Regions from separate parts of the Homo sapiens genome. Here regions 1, 2, 3, 5 and 6 are each linked to region 4. Evidence: promoter capture Hi-C in 16 types of primary human blood cells and fetal thymus (Javierre and others, 2016). All regions are on one chromosome and are shown on one strand. The core of a region is centred on a gene start or on the middle of the fragment in contact, and the rest is flanking DNA. Distances in the headings are between cores, read along the strand shown. Region 1 overlaps XPO4 (exportin 4). Region 2 overlaps XPO4 (exportin 4). Region 3 has its middle 8.8 kb from the start of XPO4. Region 4 holds the start of GJB2 (gap junction protein beta 2). Region 5 overlaps XPO4 (exportin 4). Region 6 has its middle 13 kb from the start of LINC00367.

What was found. Contacts are between HindIII fragments. The CHiCAGO score rates a contact against its expected background, and 5 or more counts as called.
Region 1: a contact is called between a fragment that was not itself captured here and the fragment with the promoter of GJB2 in region 4, in 3 of 17 cell types (M1 macrophages, total CD8 T cells and M0 macrophages). The highest score is 7.5, in M1 macrophages.
Region 2: a fragment that was not itself captured here is called in contact with the fragment with the promoter of GJB2 in region 4 in 1 of 17 cell types (M2 macrophages); the score reaches 5.0 in M2 macrophages.
Region 3: a fragment that was not itself captured here is called in contact with the fragment with the promoter of GJB2 in region 4 in 1 of 17 cell types (M2 macrophages); the score reaches 6.3 in M2 macrophages.
Region 5: a fragment that was not itself captured here is called in contact with the fragment with the promoter of GJB2 in region 4 in 4 of 17 cell types (M2 macrophages, megakaryocytes, neutrophils and 1 more); the score reaches 6.3 in M2 macrophages.
Region 6: a contact is called between a fragment that was not itself captured here and the fragment with the promoter of GJB2 in region 4, in 4 of 17 cell types (endothelial precursors, M0 macrophages, megakaryocytes and 1 more). The highest score is 8.3, in endothelial precursors.

Annotation. Positions count from the first base shown.
Region 1 is chr13:20,788,568-20,791,267 of GRCh38, forward strand. It overlaps XPO4 (exportin 4), which reads right to left. Exons shown (of 23, transcript NM_022459.5): 19 at 1,895-2,013; 20 at 1-49. Among named protein-coding and RNA genes, the nearest start is that of EEF1AKMT1, 16 kb to the left of the region's middle. The HindIII fragment of the contact is 2,297 bases long and covers 135-2,431 here.
Region 2 is chr13:20,846,698-20,849,397 of GRCh38, forward strand. All of the region lies in intron 4 of XPO4 (exportin 4), which reads right to left. Among named protein-coding and RNA genes, the nearest start is that of XPO4, 55 kb to the right of the region's middle. The HindIII fragment of the contact is 3,357 bases long and covers 1-2,700 here.
Region 3 is chr13:20,910,211-20,912,910 of GRCh38, forward strand. No RefSeq gene overlaps it. Among named protein-coding and RNA genes, the nearest start is that of XPO4, 8.8 kb to the left of the region's middle. The HindIII fragment of the contact is 3,898 bases long and covers 1-2,700 here.
Region 4 is chr13:20,191,494-20,194,193 of GRCh38, forward strand. GJB2 (gap junction protein beta 2) reads right to left here and starts at 1,445. Exons shown (of 2, transcript NM_004004.6): 1 at 1,290-1,445. The HindIII fragment of the contact is 5,188 bases long and covers 903-2,700 here.
Region 5 is chr13:20,864,733-20,867,432 of GRCh38, forward strand. All of the region lies in intron 2 of XPO4 (exportin 4), which reads right to left. Among named protein-coding and RNA genes, the nearest start is that of XPO4, 37 kb to the right of the region's middle. The HindIII fragment of the contact is 5,438 bases long and covers 1-2,700 here.
Region 6 is chr13:20,935,092-20,937,791 of GRCh38, forward strand. No RefSeq gene overlaps it. Among named protein-coding and RNA genes, the nearest start is that of LINC00367, 13 kb to the right of the region's middle. The HindIII fragment of the contact is 1,868 bases long and covers 422-2,289 here.

The DNA of each region.
Region 1 (2,700 bases), core at 33-2,532, 600 kb after region 4:
CACAGATAAATGTGATTAATTTGTAGTACTGATTACAAAGGGTTGGAAACTGAAAAAGAAATATTCAATTATTTGGATGCTCATTAGTATCCAATTTCTATTTTCATCAATGCAATAAAATAAAGTAACTGACAAGCTTCTAAATATAATGATTTCTTTAAAACATGTACAAGATATAGAAAACATGAAGACCAAATTAAATGTAAAAACAGGTACAAATAAAGGGCATATTTTAGTAACTACTATGAAACAAAGTAACAGACAGTCAAAACAATTATCTTCTAGATAGTTAATAAAATCTAAGGTCAATTCCTGATATTCTGTGTTTACCCGGAAAAAGTAAACAAGGCAGCCAGATTTAAAATTATTAAATAACTTAGGAGTAAAACCTTTTTGTAAATGTATTTCCATTCAAGCATGCTGAAAAAATTCAAGAAGGTTAATACAAATTGTTAAGACTATGCACAGAGCAGAGTATTCGGTCTTTACACTTCCAAAAACATTTTTCCAGTTGTACTATCCTAGAGAACTGAGGTAAAAGTAAGTAATCTGGTTTAACCACACTTAAGAAAAATACACACTTAAATGTTTAATGGCTTATTTGTTTAAACAAACCCTAAATGCAAATCAATATGGAGAGTTGACTAAACTTCCTCATCCTGCTGGCTGGCTGCTGTGTGAATGCCATGGGTCATCAACATTGTTTCCAATAGTTAGAGACGCTCTCAAGGAGGGGGAAGCACACGGTTAGATCCTGCTATGCTGGCAATCAAACAGGACTCATTCTTCTCGTATGTACTCACCTTCTGGACACTTCTCAGCCTCTACTTTTTTTTTTTTTTTTTGAGACAGAGTCTCGCTCTGTCACCTAGGCTGCAGTGCAGTGGCACAATCTTGGCTCACTGCAAGCTCCGCCTCCCGGGTTCACGCCATTCTCCTGCCTCAGCCTCCTGAGTAGCTGGGACTACAGGCGCCCACCACCACACCCGGCTTTTTTTTTGTGTGTGTGTGTGTGTATTTTTAGTAGAGGCGGGGTTTCACCATGTTAGCCAGGATGGTCTCGATCTCCTGACTTCGTGATCCACCCACCTCGGCCTCCAAAAGTGCTGGGATTACAAGCGTGAGCCACTGCGCCCGGCCCAGCCTCTACTATCTTACTTCCTCCTACTCCTTGTCTTTATCTCGTGTGTGTGTGCACACGCATGCATGCATGCACATGTGCACATACACACACAAACTCCTCCTTTCCTTTCCACCCATGTCCTCATCCCCACCCTTATCCTGCTATGACAACTCATGACAAGAGACCTCCCTCTGTGGTACTTACGGATGGTAGAAAAAAGTTGCCTCACCGCCACCACACCCTCAATATTAACTGACAAAACCAAGGCATAATGTAGTCAGAATGTGCAAAAACTTTAAAACAGCATCAGTCTTGGAAGCATACCATCCCATTTTTACATGGTGCCCCTTGGAAAATGCCTTCCTTTGCTCAATCCCTTAACTTGAGAATGATGTTCAGAAAGTATCAGAGGAAAACACTGAAACTTTTAACTTACTTTATTCCCTTAGTGACAAATTATGAGGTAATCAAAACTGCTAACAGAATGTACTTTCTAAAAGGACAGGCTCCTTTCTGTAGCACTCCCTGACAAAACGAGTCACTAATGTATGGGTGCCTGCAGGACTTTGGGGCAGAAACAGAGACTAAGTAAGGGCCCATGTTACTGAGAAGCATGCACAAGTAACCGTTAATGAAAATACAAAAATTGTATCTTCATGTGCACTTAGCAGATACAACTACTAAATTAAATCACAGATATATTCTTGTCTAAAGTATCTTTGAACTTCAGTTACACATAGTGGTATGTTCACATTCAATTTCATTAATTACCTTCAAGAGATCCTGTGACATCAAGGGCAGAATTAGGTTTACTCCATACAACACAACATCCGCTGCTGACACAGATCTGTTTGCTGCTTGACCTGGCTCATGTCCTCTAAACACTTCATCTATTAAAATAAAAGGATGCAGGCTTATGGTGGTAACATCAATAAATCTTCCAAGTGTGTATTCTACCCTTATGAAAATAAACTCACCCCTAGAGGCTAAATAAATCAATGAGTGAATAATAAAGAATCTGACCTCGTCCTGCCTGGTCTCTGGTGAGGGGATGGAGGAGACAGCACATCCAGGGGTGAAAAAAAGATCTGAGACCCCAGCCCTGTGTCATCCTTTTGAGTTTTATTAGGGGATATGAGTACTTGATACAGAAGTATTGGGGAGGTTAAGAGCAGGGGACAGTCTAGAAATAAAACTAATGCTTAATCAATGTTTTGAAATATAAAATCTACTGGCATACTAGCCATAATGAGTTAAACAATTTCTATAGAAATATCCATTTGATTTCAAGTGTGTATAATATTTCTAAGCTTAAAAGGAATGCGAGAAATACAGAAATTAAAATGTTACATAAAAAAGAAAGTAGTTTAAAAAAGAACAACCAATATGACAAAGGGTTATCATTCTTAATACATATGAATTATATATATATATAAATTAATGAGAATACTAAGACCTAAACAGATAAATTAACATCTCTAAACAAACGTTTATCAAAGTCTGACTCTAAAGGAAAACAGTCCATTCCAACTATTAATCAAGCAATACAAATTTTAAAAAGATACTACTTCTGATTC
Region 2 (2,700 bases), core at 6-2,505, 660 kb after region 4:
AAATTGTCTACAATCCTACCATCCAGGAGTTATTACTGTAACATTTATAGCTTTCCAATTTTTTGATGCACAGATATAAATTTTTATATATCATTGATATAAACCCAAATATAGTTTTACATTCTACTTTTCCACTTTATACCTATGAAATAAAAAGAAAAAAATTTAAAAACAAATGTGTTCTATTTAAATATACCACTTAAAGACTTAAGAAATACATAAAAATAAATTATTGTACAGCATTGTTAGAGGTATTGCAAGAAATCAAATATTCTGGCTTTAACTGTACCTACGATTATCAGCTTCCAAAGAACTAAAATTCAATAGGATATTTTCATCATTAAAATATACCAAATAGTATAAGCTCTCCTTAATTTGGAAATCCTGTAGGAATATGAGATTACCATCATAAATATTAATCATACTACACTAGTCTGGCTCAAAGGTGCCAAATGAATAGAGACTCCTGGGGAATGATGAATAATTAAACATTGATTATACATTAAGAGAGCAAAGTACTTCAACACATATCAACAAAGTATTTCTCCCTATTCATAGGGGAATTAAACATATCACTAAATGTCTAGGACTCACTTCTAAATATGTTTGCTCATTTTCAATATTTAATTATGGATTAAATCCCCTTAAAATGAAGTTACTCTCACATTGTGGGTTGTAATGAAGATAGCTAGGGAAGCAAGCCAAAAATAAAACTCCCAAGGGAGAACAGAGGACAGCTTCTTCCCAGGAAAGAGAGAGGAAAGAAAAAAAATTAAAGCATCAAATCTGCCTAAAGGAGATCACCAGCTTCAGCTTTTCTTACCCTTAAAGAATGTTCTTATCTGCCTCCTTCAGACTGTTAGGTCTCAATGGGCATTCCGAGTGCACTACCCCCTAACTCACCCTCTACTGACCAGTATCTTCAAGTGCTGCCTCTCTGGCCTTTGTCAAAGTCAGAGCTAGATATTTTTCCATATCAGAGACAGTGGCTCTGATACTTAAGACAGCCGGAAACAAAAGCTGTAGTAATTAATGTCAGTGAATTCGGATCAAAGTTGACTAACTAACTAATTGATAAAAGACTGCCATACTAAAATACACAGGAATTTGCCCAGTATAAAATACAAATCTTAAGACTTCTAAGAGGTTAATACAACAATACTTCACTTATCTAAGATCATGAAGAATTAAGTTAATATGTTAATTTTGTAAATGCAGCAAGCAAACATTTTTAATGAAACGTCCTATAAATTTTTCTTAAGGAATTATTTCTATGGCAATTATATGATATTATACTTAAGTGACTACTTGGAAGCTACTAAAACATAAGGGGCCTTCCACCCGTTGGCAACGTGGTGCCAGATCCCAATGCTTGTTGATTTATGTCTGCTTCATAGCTTTTCTCAATCATCCTTTGTTGTTGTCTATCATTCACTGCTGCTGGCAATTTGACTGCCACTAACAGGTAGTTCTAAATGGATCATTTTCATTTGCTCACAGGTTAGAAACCAAATAAAATTTATTAAAATTACATCTAAAATAAATGATAAATAAAAACATTCTGCAGGACTCTTTCAGGAGTCCAATACAAGAATCCTGTTGTTTGAATCAGTTAGAAAATCTGGGCTCTAACAGTCCAAGATTTCCTTCTTCAAATAACTGTGGTCAAAGCCCTTCATGTACCTTGACCTCAGCTTTCTCATCTACAGTAAGGGCTACCACCCTCTGCCATACCTAATTTGCATAATTGTCCTAAGGCTCAAATTGCATAATGCTTAAAAATACCATGTAATTACACCAGGTTACAAGAAGGTAAAGTAGCAGCTGTATTTTTTATCATTATCATAGAAAATGACAACCACCTATTTCAGCTTTATTCTATTCCTTGATGATGATCTACATTCTGCAAAATTAAAATTACTAAATGTGTTACACCACTTAAAAAACAGAGCTATAACTGAAGCTGTATCACTAAAGCAATATAGTAAATGTTCAGTAAATGCTGTTTGGATTAATGAATCAGTGTTTACTTCTATGCCCAGCACTATGTTAACATAACAGAAGTTGGAAAATAAATGATGTGTTCCCTATTTTTTGGTTGTTTATAAATTTCTACAAGACAATTTTAATATGTCAAACAAGTAGAAGACAATGCAATGAGGTGTCAAAGTTATAAAAAAAAGTCTAATTGTCTTCTTTCATTGAAGTACTGAAAATTCACAAGTTAATTCACTGGCTAACAATTTAAGTAACTCTTATCTTCACATTGAAAGTCTTAGACCAGCATTCTCATTTATTTCTAGCAAAAGCCATTAATTTCAAGCTAGTGAAAAAATGCCCTTCAGAGATAGCTTGCCTTACTCACCAGCTTACTGTCACAAGCCCAAGATACTCAAACACTAACTCCAGCTGACAAAATAAAATACTCTTGTTCAGAGAGAGGATTGTCTCTTATAATAGCCTGGCTCTTACCCCAGGAGCTTTATTACCAAGAATAAACTTTATGAAAGGTTGCCATACATAAAGCAGACTTCCAGCTGCTCTTCTATGCAAACATCAATGAGACTTATGATAAGAGAGATTAACTTGGCTATCACATCCAGGGGCTGCCGTAGACAAGTGAATTTCTCACCCACTTCTCTCTAGTATGGCAAAGAGGAAGAAAGGAGACTTAAATGCTAAATTAAACAGCTTTAAAGT
Region 3 (2,700 bases), core at 58-2,557, 720 kb after region 4:
CTACAGGCACCCGCCACCATGTCCAGTTAATTTTTTGTATTTTTAGTAGAGATGGGGTTTCACCATGTTAGCCAGGATGGTCTTGATCTCTGACCTCGTGATCTGCCTGCCTCTGCCTCCCAAAGTGCTGGGATTACAGGCGCGAGCCACCGCACCCGGTGGAAATGGGATTTGAAATCACACAATTTCTTTTCTAATCATGGTGAAATAAAACTAGAAATTAATGGCATAAGGAAAATGGAAAATTAGTACATATGTGGAAATTAAACAACACACTGTAACTTTTTTTTCTATTTTTTCCCCTTTTTTTTGCTTTTTTTTTATTTTTTATTTTTTTTTTATTGGGCAGTCCCTGGCCGGGCATGGTGGCTCACACCTGTAATCCCAGCACTTTGGGAGGCCGAGATGGGCAGATCACTTGAGGTCAGGAGTTTGAGACCAGCCTGGCCAACATGGTGAAAACTCATCTCTACTAAAAATACAAAAAAAGTTAGCTGGGCACGTTGGCGCGGGCCTGTAGTCCCAGCTACTCCAGAGGCTGAGGCAGGAGAATCGCTTGAACCCGGGAGGCAGAGGTTGCAGTGAGCTGAGATCGCACCACTGCACTCTAGCCTGGGCAACAGGGCAAGACTCCATCTCAAAAAAAAAAAAAAAGAAAAAACTTGGGCAGCCCCCAAACAAGAATAGACTCTGAGAGACTCCCAAATGACACACTTTTAAACAACCAAAGAGTCAAAGAAGAAATCACAAGGGAAATTAGAAAATATCCTGAGATAAATCAAAATAAAAACACAACATACCAAAAGTTATGGGATGCAGCAAAAGCAATACTAAGAGGAAATTTATTTATAAATGTTGGGAGCCGAAAAGACCAAAGGGATCGTGACCAACTCAGCATTCCACTGGAGGCTATATGATCAAACAGCCAACTGTTTATCATGAATGCAGGATGTGGGCAGACTCAGCGACTGTGCCTACCGCCAGAAGGTTTGCTGAGGGCAATCACTCCCTGGTGCTGTGCTCATTGAGGTTATCTACTGGGACATCTAGAGCTTATTGTTTGAAGAATGCAGTCTTGCAAGCCAGCTGTAAATCAAGCTGCTGACCAACCACTGCCTCCTCCCTGTGTCCTTTACTCAATAAAATGCGAAGGGCTCTAAAGCTCAGGGCCCTTGTTCACTAGAAGCAAGGACCGCCTCCTCCCAACCCCTTCTTCCAAATATACTCTTTTGCCTTTATCTTTATTCCCAAGTTCGTCATCCTTTGTTCAGTCCAACAGGGATAGGGTCCACAGCAACAACAAACACATTTAAAAAGAAGAAAGTTGTCAAGTCAACAACCTAACATTATACCTTAAGGAACTAGAAGAAGAAGAACAAACTAAACCTAAAGCTAGCAGAAGGAAAAAAATAAACATTAAGCAGAGATAAATGAAATCGAGAATGGGAACCAATAGAGAGAATCAATAAAACCAAGAATTTGTTCTTTGAAAGGATCAACAAAATTGACAAACTTAACTAGATTAAGAATAAAAAAGAGATAGGCTGGGTGGGCGTGGTGGCTCATGTCCGTAATCCGAGCACTTTGGTAGGCTGAGGCAGGAGTTTGAGACCAGCCTGACCAACATAGTGGCCAAATCCCATTTCTACCGAAAATACAAAATTAGCTGGGTGTGGTGGCAGGTGCCTGTAGTCCCAGCTACTCGGGAGGCTGAGGTGGGAGAATCGCTTGGACTCGGGAGGCAGAGGTTACAGTGAGCCGAGACTGCGACATTGCACTCCAGCCTGGGTGACAGAGTGAGACACCATCTCAAAAAAATAAATAAATAAAAATAAAAGAGAGAACCCCGCTAGGCATGGTGGCGCACAGCTGTAATCCCAGCAGTTTGGGAGGCCAAGGTGAGAAGATTGCTTGAGCCCAGGAGTTAGAGATCAGCCTGAGCAACATGGTGAAATCCCATCTCTACAAAAAATACAAAATTTAGCCAGGCATGCTGATGTGTGCCTGTAGTTCCAGCTACTGAAGAGGCTGAGGCAGGAGAATCGCTTGAGCCCAGGAGGCAGAGGTTGCAGTGATCTGAGATCATGCTACTGTACTCAAGCCTGAGTGACACAGCAAGACCTTGTGTCAAAAAAAAAAAAAAAAAAAAAAAAAAAGAAGGCTGGGCCTGGTGGCTCACGCCTGTAATCCCAGCACTTTGGGAGGCCAAGGCAGCTGGCTCACGAGGTCAGGAGATCGAGACCATCCTGGCTAACATGGTGAAACCCCGACTCTACTAAAAATACAAAAAAATTAGCCAGGTGCAGTGTTGGGCACCTGTAGTCCCAGCTACTCGGGAGGCTGAGGCAGGAGAATGGCGTGAACCCAGGAGGCAGAGCTTGCAGTGAGCCAAGATCATGCCACTGTACTGGAGCCTGGGAGACAGAATGAGACTCTGTCTCAAAAAAAAAAGAAAGAAAGAAAGGAGAGGCTGAGTGCAGTGGCTCATGCCTATAATCCTAGCACTTTGGGAGGCCGATGCGGGCAGATCACTTGAGGTCAGGTGTTCAAGACCAGCCTGGCCAAAATGGTGAAACCCCGTCTGTACTAAAAATACAAAAATTAGCTGAGCGTGGTGGCAGGCACCTGTAGTCCCAGCTACTCAGGAGGCTGAGGCAGGAGAATCGCTTGAACCTGGGAGGCAGAGGTTGCAGAGAGCCA
Region 4 (2,700 bases), core at 195-2,694:
AGCTACCTGTTTTAAAGATCCTTTTTCAGGAAGAGGAGTAAATTAAGATTTACTCCCCAATGGGCTAGGGGGTCATGGGTTAAGAGGGGCTCAGAAGCAGGACGAAGTTGTTTTCAATATTCAAGTCAGAGGAGGAGCTGCCCTCCTGGCCTCCCGACCCTGGGCGGTTACATGCAGCTTCCTACCGGGCCCACGCCATCCTGCACCGCCTGGAGGGCTGCCAGAGGCCAGCGGAGGAGTTGGTTCAGTTCCTTAGGGAAGACACTAGGTGAATCACCAGGATCCAGAAAAGGCAAAAGGGACTCTTCACCCCTTAAATTTCTCCACCCTTAGGTGATGGGTGGTCGACCTTGCCTGGCTGTCCCCAGAGGGTTCCTCCACCCTTCTCACCAGTGTCTGAAATTGTGACCGACTGTGCACAGCAGTTTCGAAAGGGACTCTAAGGTCACATGGGGACACGGCCGTACCACGCTTCTCAAGGCAGTCCCAGGTGCATGGCCACGGAACCCAGCTCTCAGCAGCTGTTAGTTAGGTGAGCGCTGTTCGGGCTGCCTTCCTCCTCCAGTGGGGCAGGATCGAGGCACTGATGGAACCGTCCTGAGGACGCGGGTCTCAGCCGCACACCACCTCTTCGCGAACAAGGGTCCTAAAAATTTTCCTTCTAGGCGGGGAGCACAGCCCGGAAACAGACCCTCGTGAAGTGTTTAGGAAAAAGGGAAGCCACTGAAATCTTGGCCCCGGGGTAGGCCGGGATCGGCTGGCTCCGCGTTAGTTCTAGGCAAACTCCGCCCAAATCTCTGCCCGGGGATTTTTCTGCAGAAGCCGCTCCAAGAGGTAAAGGTCAGTTCCTGCAGCGAAGGCTTCCTGCTTCACCGGCGAAACGGAGCTTTGCTTCGAAGCTAAGCTTTCGGTGAATTTAAAACGTTTGGTGGCAGTGGGTCAAGTAGCCAGGCGGCTGCGCTAGAGTACCCCGAAGGGACATCGGCGACACCACAAACCTCGCGCTGGCGGCTCGCCCGCGCCTTTTTCCCCTCCCGCGCGCGCCCGGCCCCACTCGCACCCCGGGCGGTGCCATCGCGTCCACTTCCCCGGCCGCCCCATTCCAGCTCCGGAGCTCGGCCGCAGAAACGCCCGCTCCAGAAGGCGGCCCCCGCCCCCCGGCCCAAGGACGTGTGTTGGTCCAGCCCCCCGGTTCCCCGAGACCCACGCGGCCGGGCAACCGCTCTGGGTCTCGCGGTCCCTCCCCGCGCCAGGTTCCTGGCCGGGCAGTCCGGGGCCGGCGGGCTCACCTGCGTCGGGAGGAAGCGCGGCGGGGCCGGGGCGGGGGTCTCGGCGTTGGGGTCTCTGCGCTGGGGCTCCTGCGCTCCTAGGCGGGTCCTGGGCCGGGCGCCGCCGAGGGGCTCCGAGTCGGGGAGAGGAGCGCGCGGGCGCTGCGGGGCCGCAACACCTGTCTCCCGCCGTGGCGCCTTTTAACCGCACCCCACACCCCGCCTCTTCCCTCGGAGACTGGGAAAGTTACGGAGGGGGCGGCGCCGCGGGCGGAGCGCGCCCGGCCTCTGGGTCCTCAGAGCTTCCCGGGTCCGCGAACCCCCGACCGCCCCCGAAAGCCCCGAACCCCCCAAGTCCCCTTCGAGGTCCCGATCTCCTAGTTCCTTTGAGCCCCCATGAGTTCCCCAAGTGCCCCCAGCGCCCTGAGTCTCCCCCGGTTACCCCGAGCGCCGCCTCCCCCAGCCCCTTGGCGGCCCGGGTGAAGCGGGGGCGGCTGAGAGTCGGGACCCCCCAGGAAGCGGCGCCCCAGACCCCGGCTCCGGCGCTGTGCCGTGGGCGGGGTTCAGGGATGGCTGTGGTCGTTGTCCTCTGTACTCCGCATAGTGCGAGAGGACTTGGCATTTATGAGCGCTTCTTTAATTTTTTATTGTTAGAGAAACAGGCATTCCTCCAAGGACTGAAGATCTGTTCGAGTCGCGGAGGCTGCGCGGGCCCGCGAGGCTCTCGCAGGGGGACCTAGGCTGGGTGGCGGGGCAGTGCCCTCTGGAATGGGGGTTAACGGTGGCCGAGGAGGGGGCGCCGCTGGTGCCGGCGAAGTCCCCGCTTCTTTCTCCCCTCAAAATCTCACCAATCCGAACGAACGCCTTCTCGAATTTCCGATTTTATTCAATTACTTTCAACAATGTGCCAAGGACTAAGGTTGGGGGCGGTGGGAGAGACAAGCCTCGTTTTTGCCATGGCCGGCAGGGGGGTCCCGCCATCTGCGGAGGGTGCCCCCCGCGGCCCCCGGCCCAGCCAACTTCCTCCTCTTTTCGCAACTGGGGAACTGCAAGGAGGTGACTCCTTTCGGGGTGAGGAGGCCCAGACTTTTCAGAAAGGAAAGAGGGCAGGTAAAACCTGCCAAGCCCCTTCCTGCTCGATGCACACAGCACGAAAGGGGGAAACTGATAGGATTCTGCGGAAGACCGCTGGGGGGCTGGCTCTGCACTGCACACCTGCTGGGGGCTTTCTGGATACCGTGAAACTTTGTCTCAGATTATGAGGTCTCAGTATTTGCATTTGGTTGGGGATTTTGATGTCTTGCGATACAAATGACAGAAGACAGATTTGCACAGCGCAAGCGGATGAGGGACTAAGATGTGCAGAGCAGGCTGGGTGGGGACTCCCGGGGAGGTCTCCCCCAACCCCCGCCCCACCTCGGGCACCCACTTC
Region 5 (2,700 bases), core at 45-2,544, 670 kb after region 4:
GGGCAGTTATAGAAGATGAATATTCAAAATTTTCAAGACACAAAAGTTTCTTAATTCTTTTTCTTAGACCTCTGCATGGTATTAAATGATGATCTCTAAATGACTACTCCCATAAGAAGCTGACTCTAAGAATGGAGGAATAAAAAAAAAAAAAGCCAAATTCCTAATTTAAAAGAAGAAATTTTCCTAAACTAATAAATTACCCTTTCTCATAAAAACCATTATTAGCTGTCATAAATTTAACTTATACATAGTAGAAATATGCAAGAGATGCTAGAAGGTACTCTCGAAGCCTACCAGTATGAAATTAGAACTTCACAAATACATATGAGCTTTACTTTCGCTCTCTGTTACAAAGATGCCTGAAACTACAGGGTTTTCATGAAGAACTCACAATTCATCTAGCATTTTTTTTTTTTTTTTGAGATGGAGTTTTGCTCTTGTTACTGAGACTAGAATGCAATGGCGCAATCTCGGCTCACCACAACCTCTGCCTCCCGGGTTCAAGTGATTCTCCTGCCTCAGCCTCCCGAGTAGCTGGGAATACAGGCATGTGCCACCACACCGGCTAATTTTGTATTTTTAGTAGAGACAGGGTTTTTCCATGTTGGTCAGGTTGGTCTCAAACTCCCAACCTCAAGTGATCCACCCACCTCAGCCTCCCAAAGTGCTGGGATTACAGGTGTGAGCCACCACACCCAGCCTCATCTAGAATTTCTAAACTACTTCTGGGAAGATCTGCCACTGACTAGGACACTGTCCAGAGAATAAATTATTTTAGGTCACTTTAGCAAAATGCTTTCATCTGCTACCACAGTAACTTTCTTTAATAATAATTATGTAAATAAAATTCATTTGAATTTTGTCAGCCATCTGAAACTAAACAGAAACATGAAGACAAAAGTTAAAGTTAATAATACAGGAAAAGCACTACATTCTGACCAAAAAGTTTTTTTAAAAAAGAAAAAACCCCGGTAGTGAAGCCACAGATATACAGCTACTACAATCAACTCTCTGGCCTTAAGTATTTCTGTCCAAAGCACAGGCAATATAAGCTCCAAGTCTACTCTTTGACTCAGTGATACCTATGCCCACCAACTAATGACAAAAAGTCTCAGATGGAAGATGATTTATTAATTCCCAGTGACTGACAGCACTACTAAGGAAACAATTTTCCAGAGGTGTAAAAGTTTACTAGTTTAACTGACTTTTTGGTGGTTTATTATTTTGTTTTGTTTTGGCACTTGTGAGATCAGAAGTGAAAGAAATCCATTTCTCCCTGAGAAAGAGTAAAAGAATGCCACAAAGTTAGCTCCAGAAGAAGTAAGCCAATCCCTCACAGTTCTTGATTATTTCTTTAACAAGAACAGAACTCACTTGTTTTTTTAAAGGAACATTTGATCCTAAAAAATTTAAATTACTAAGTGCCAAAGACTTCTGAAGTGAAGAAGTCTAAAAGTGCTCTTCTGACAAAATGCACAAGCATGCCACATGCATGCACAGATACACCACACACACACACAGAAAAGAGCAAAGAAAATAAAAACTAGAATGAAAACAAAAGGATAAGAAGAGAAAGAAATGAGGAAAAATGAGCAACATATAAAACTCAAGTTAGAAGTGAGAAGGAAGAATTTTAAGAGGCCAGAAAAGGGAAGCATCAAAGAAAGTCTCCCCTTTAGTAGAATATATTACCCAGACCTTCTATAAAAATGACACATAATCCCTAAACAAGAATGTGAAAATTCTGAACTGCGATTGACTGCCACTTGTATGAGAAGTCTTCTTAGAGGAATTTACCCTTCTGTGCTGGTGGCAACTGAATAAGGAGTGAAAAGATTTTCTGTGAAGTTTAGATGTAAACATTAATGTAACACAGGGCTTTGCAGTACATTAATGATTATGCTTGTAATACATGCACTCCACCTTTTAAATAGTCAGTGTCTCAAAACCCAAACTCATTTTAAAAGCATGGCCAGAACTAGCAATACTACTCTTTAGAAAATTTTATCAGGAAAACAAAAGTATTCCAAAACAAGCTCAATCATAACAAAGCAACAATACTTCATAAAATATACATATTCTAAAAAGGAAAGAATGGTATAAACAAATACACTCTAATAAAATACTTGTAAGTTAGATCAACTATTTCCCAACTAGTGTACAATGACACTGAATTCCAATAGAAAGTCAGATGAAACACTGATGGAATCCTAGTCAATGTCGTTAAGGCATATGCCATGAAAACCAGACTCAAATTATTTTAGGTTAATAGTTTAACACAACGGTTTTCTAAATCTATTAATGCTGAACAATTTCAAGGCAGTAAGGATGAATTAATGCTTCCTTAAACTCTTTATGCCGTTTAGTTTTGCTTCCTTTAACATTGAGTTAAATATCCTCCACAGGTATATGTTAAATCTTCTTAGTGCCAGAAACGAATCCACACAACTATAAAAGCTGACCACTGAAATAAGTAAATTAATTAAAATGGCTTCAGTGAGAATTTAAAAGGTAGTTGTTGAACCTGTTCCTCTGCTAAGACCTAACTCCTAAATGAGACAGAGCCACCTTCACCACTGCTGCTAGTTCCTTGCAAACACAGAACACAGCATTTTTAAAGCCGATTACATTTTTTAAAAGCTGTTTAAAATCAAGTATATGGCCATGACATTTACCTCACTGTTCACAAAGTGCTTT
Region 6 (2,700 bases), core at 106-2,605, 740 kb after region 4:
CCATTGCGTAGCCAGTCCACTGAAGACATTTTGTTGCAGATTCTTTAACCTTCAATGCAATTTGCACTAGTGCCTTATCATCTGCAGTAGGGGATGGAGGTGTCAGCTTCACTTTTCCGTCTTTCCTGACATTTCTGGTATTGGAGAAAGAAAAAAAAAAACCATGGAAAGGGAAATAATAGGCACTGGGGGACTCCAAAGGGGGAGAGGATGGGAGGGATTTCATGTTGAAAAATGACCTATTGCATAGAAGATTCATTATTTTAGTGATGGGTGCACTAGAAACTCAAACCTCACCATTCCACGTTATATCCATGTAACAAACATGCACATGTATGCCCTGAATAATGATAATAAGAGCATGGGAGACAGAGGTCTTATGTGACTGCCTGCCAACTGCACATCCAAGATCCAGACTTGAAGCTTATAAATATGTATAAAATGTTGGGCTCAGGAGTGGTGGCTCACGCCTATAATCTCAGCACTTTGGGAGGTGAAGGCAAGCGGATCACTTGAGGCCAGGAGTTGGAGGCCAGCCCAGGCAATGTAGCAAGAGCCTGTCTCTACAAAACCTAAAAAAAATTAGCTGGACTTTATGGCATGCACCTGTAGTCCCCAGCTACTGGGGAGGCTGAGGCAAGAGGATCACTTGAGCCTGGGAGTTTGAGGTTACAGTGAGCTATGACTGTGCCACCACACTCCAGCCTAGGCAAGAGAGTGAAAAAGGGCCGGGCGTGGTGGCTCACACCTGTAATCCCAGCACTTTGGGAGGCCGAGGCAGGTGGATCACGAGGTCAGGAGATCGAGACCATCCTGGCTAACATGGTGAAACCCCGTCTCTACTAAAAATACAAAAAATTAGCCGGGCGTGGTGGAGGGCACCTGTAGTCCCAGCTACTCAGGAGGCTGAGGCAGAAGAATGGTGTGAACCTGGGATGAGGAGCTTGCGGTGAGCCGAGATCGTGCCACTGCACTCCAGCCTGGGCAACAGAGCAAGACTCTTGTCTAAAAAAAAATAGAGAGAGTGAAAAAAATAGCCAGGTACAGTGGCTCATGCCTGTAATTTCAGCACTTTGGGAGGCCGAGGCAGGAGAATCACTTGAGGCTAGGAGGTGGAGGCCACATTGACCTATGATCGCATCACTGCACTACAGCATGGGCAGCAGAGTGATACCTTGTCTCAAAAAAAAAAAAAAAAAAAAAAAAAAAGGCCGGGCATGGTGGCTCACACCTGTAATCCCAGCATTTTGGGAGGCTGAGGCGGAAGGATCATTTGAGGTTAGGAGTTCGAAACCAGCCTGGCCAACATGGTGAAACCCTATTTCTACTAAAAATACAAAAAAAAAATTACCCAGGCGTGGTGGTGGGTGCCTGTAATCCCAGCTACTTGGGAGGCTGAGGCAGGAGAATTGCTTGAGCCCGGGAGGCAGAGGTTGCAGTTAGCTGAGATCGCACAACCATTGCACTCCAGCCTGGGTGACAGAGCAAGACTTAGTCTCAAAAAAATGTTGGACACCTTTGAGTATTAACATAGATTATCCAGGTGAAGGGCACTGAGCTTAAACTTCATCACCTCATGGTAAGTTCCCTGTGCAAAGCTGGCAGCAAGGTTCTTGTGAGTGTCCCTGCCTCTGTGGCTAATGCTAACTGACATGGGCTATGTGAGGCGACCCCTCAAATACTGGAACTTCCATAGGTGCATGTGGAGGGGCTTTTGGGAGGGTTCTGGGAGGAGTGGATCTGCCCGACATGGGTAAGCTGCCTCCATTCCCACTGTCTTCACGGTCACTCAACTGACACGCTCTTACTCACTCCCTGTTCTTCATCTCTTCCAAGGTTTCTTCCCCTGCTTGGGGGACACAGTTGTCCTAATCAACAGCTGAGGCTGAGCCCAAGTCCAACCAGGAGACAGAAGAGTTTCTGTTGGCTGGGGAGGTGAGAAGGCTGGAGAGCTGATTGCGGATCTTGCCTTTCTCGGAAAGCCCAGAGGGGTCTCTAAGGTTCCCAGACACTTCACATTTTTTGTCCAGGGCTTTTGGTTTCAGCTGCAATTCTGGAACATGGGAAAAAAGAAAATCCACATAACATTCTGTTGTACATTTATTCAAAATACAGAAAAGAAATATTTAAAGAATAAAATAAAGATAACATTCACAAGAGGAACCATGAAATTAACCCTCTCCTGGGAGTATACACTGGAAATCAATTTGGAAATATATAACAAGAGCATTAAAAATGTTCTTAAGAATATAATTAAAGATGCAGAAAAAGATTATGTACTCATGATAAAGCTTATACAAGGAAAAGAAAAAGATCATGTATAAAGATATGCAATATGATGTTATTTACAAGGTATATTTACATTTTAAATTATTTAAAATAGGAAATAACCTAAATTTCCAATAACAAGTAAATGGTTAATTAATTTGGGCTATATCATCATAATGGAATATCATATAGCCATTCAAAGCCATTGTTTTATGAGTTTTAGTGACAGGGAAAATGATTACTATAGGTGTCTGTTCACTGTGTTTTCAAAGTGTCCTAAATTTTCTTTTTTTTTTTTTTTTTGAGACGGAGTCTCGATCTGTTGCCCAGGCTGGAGTGCAGTGGCGTGATCTCGACTCACTGCAAGCTCCGCCTCCCAGGTTCATGCCATTCTCCTGCCTCAGCCTCTCCGAGTTGCTGGGACTACAGGCG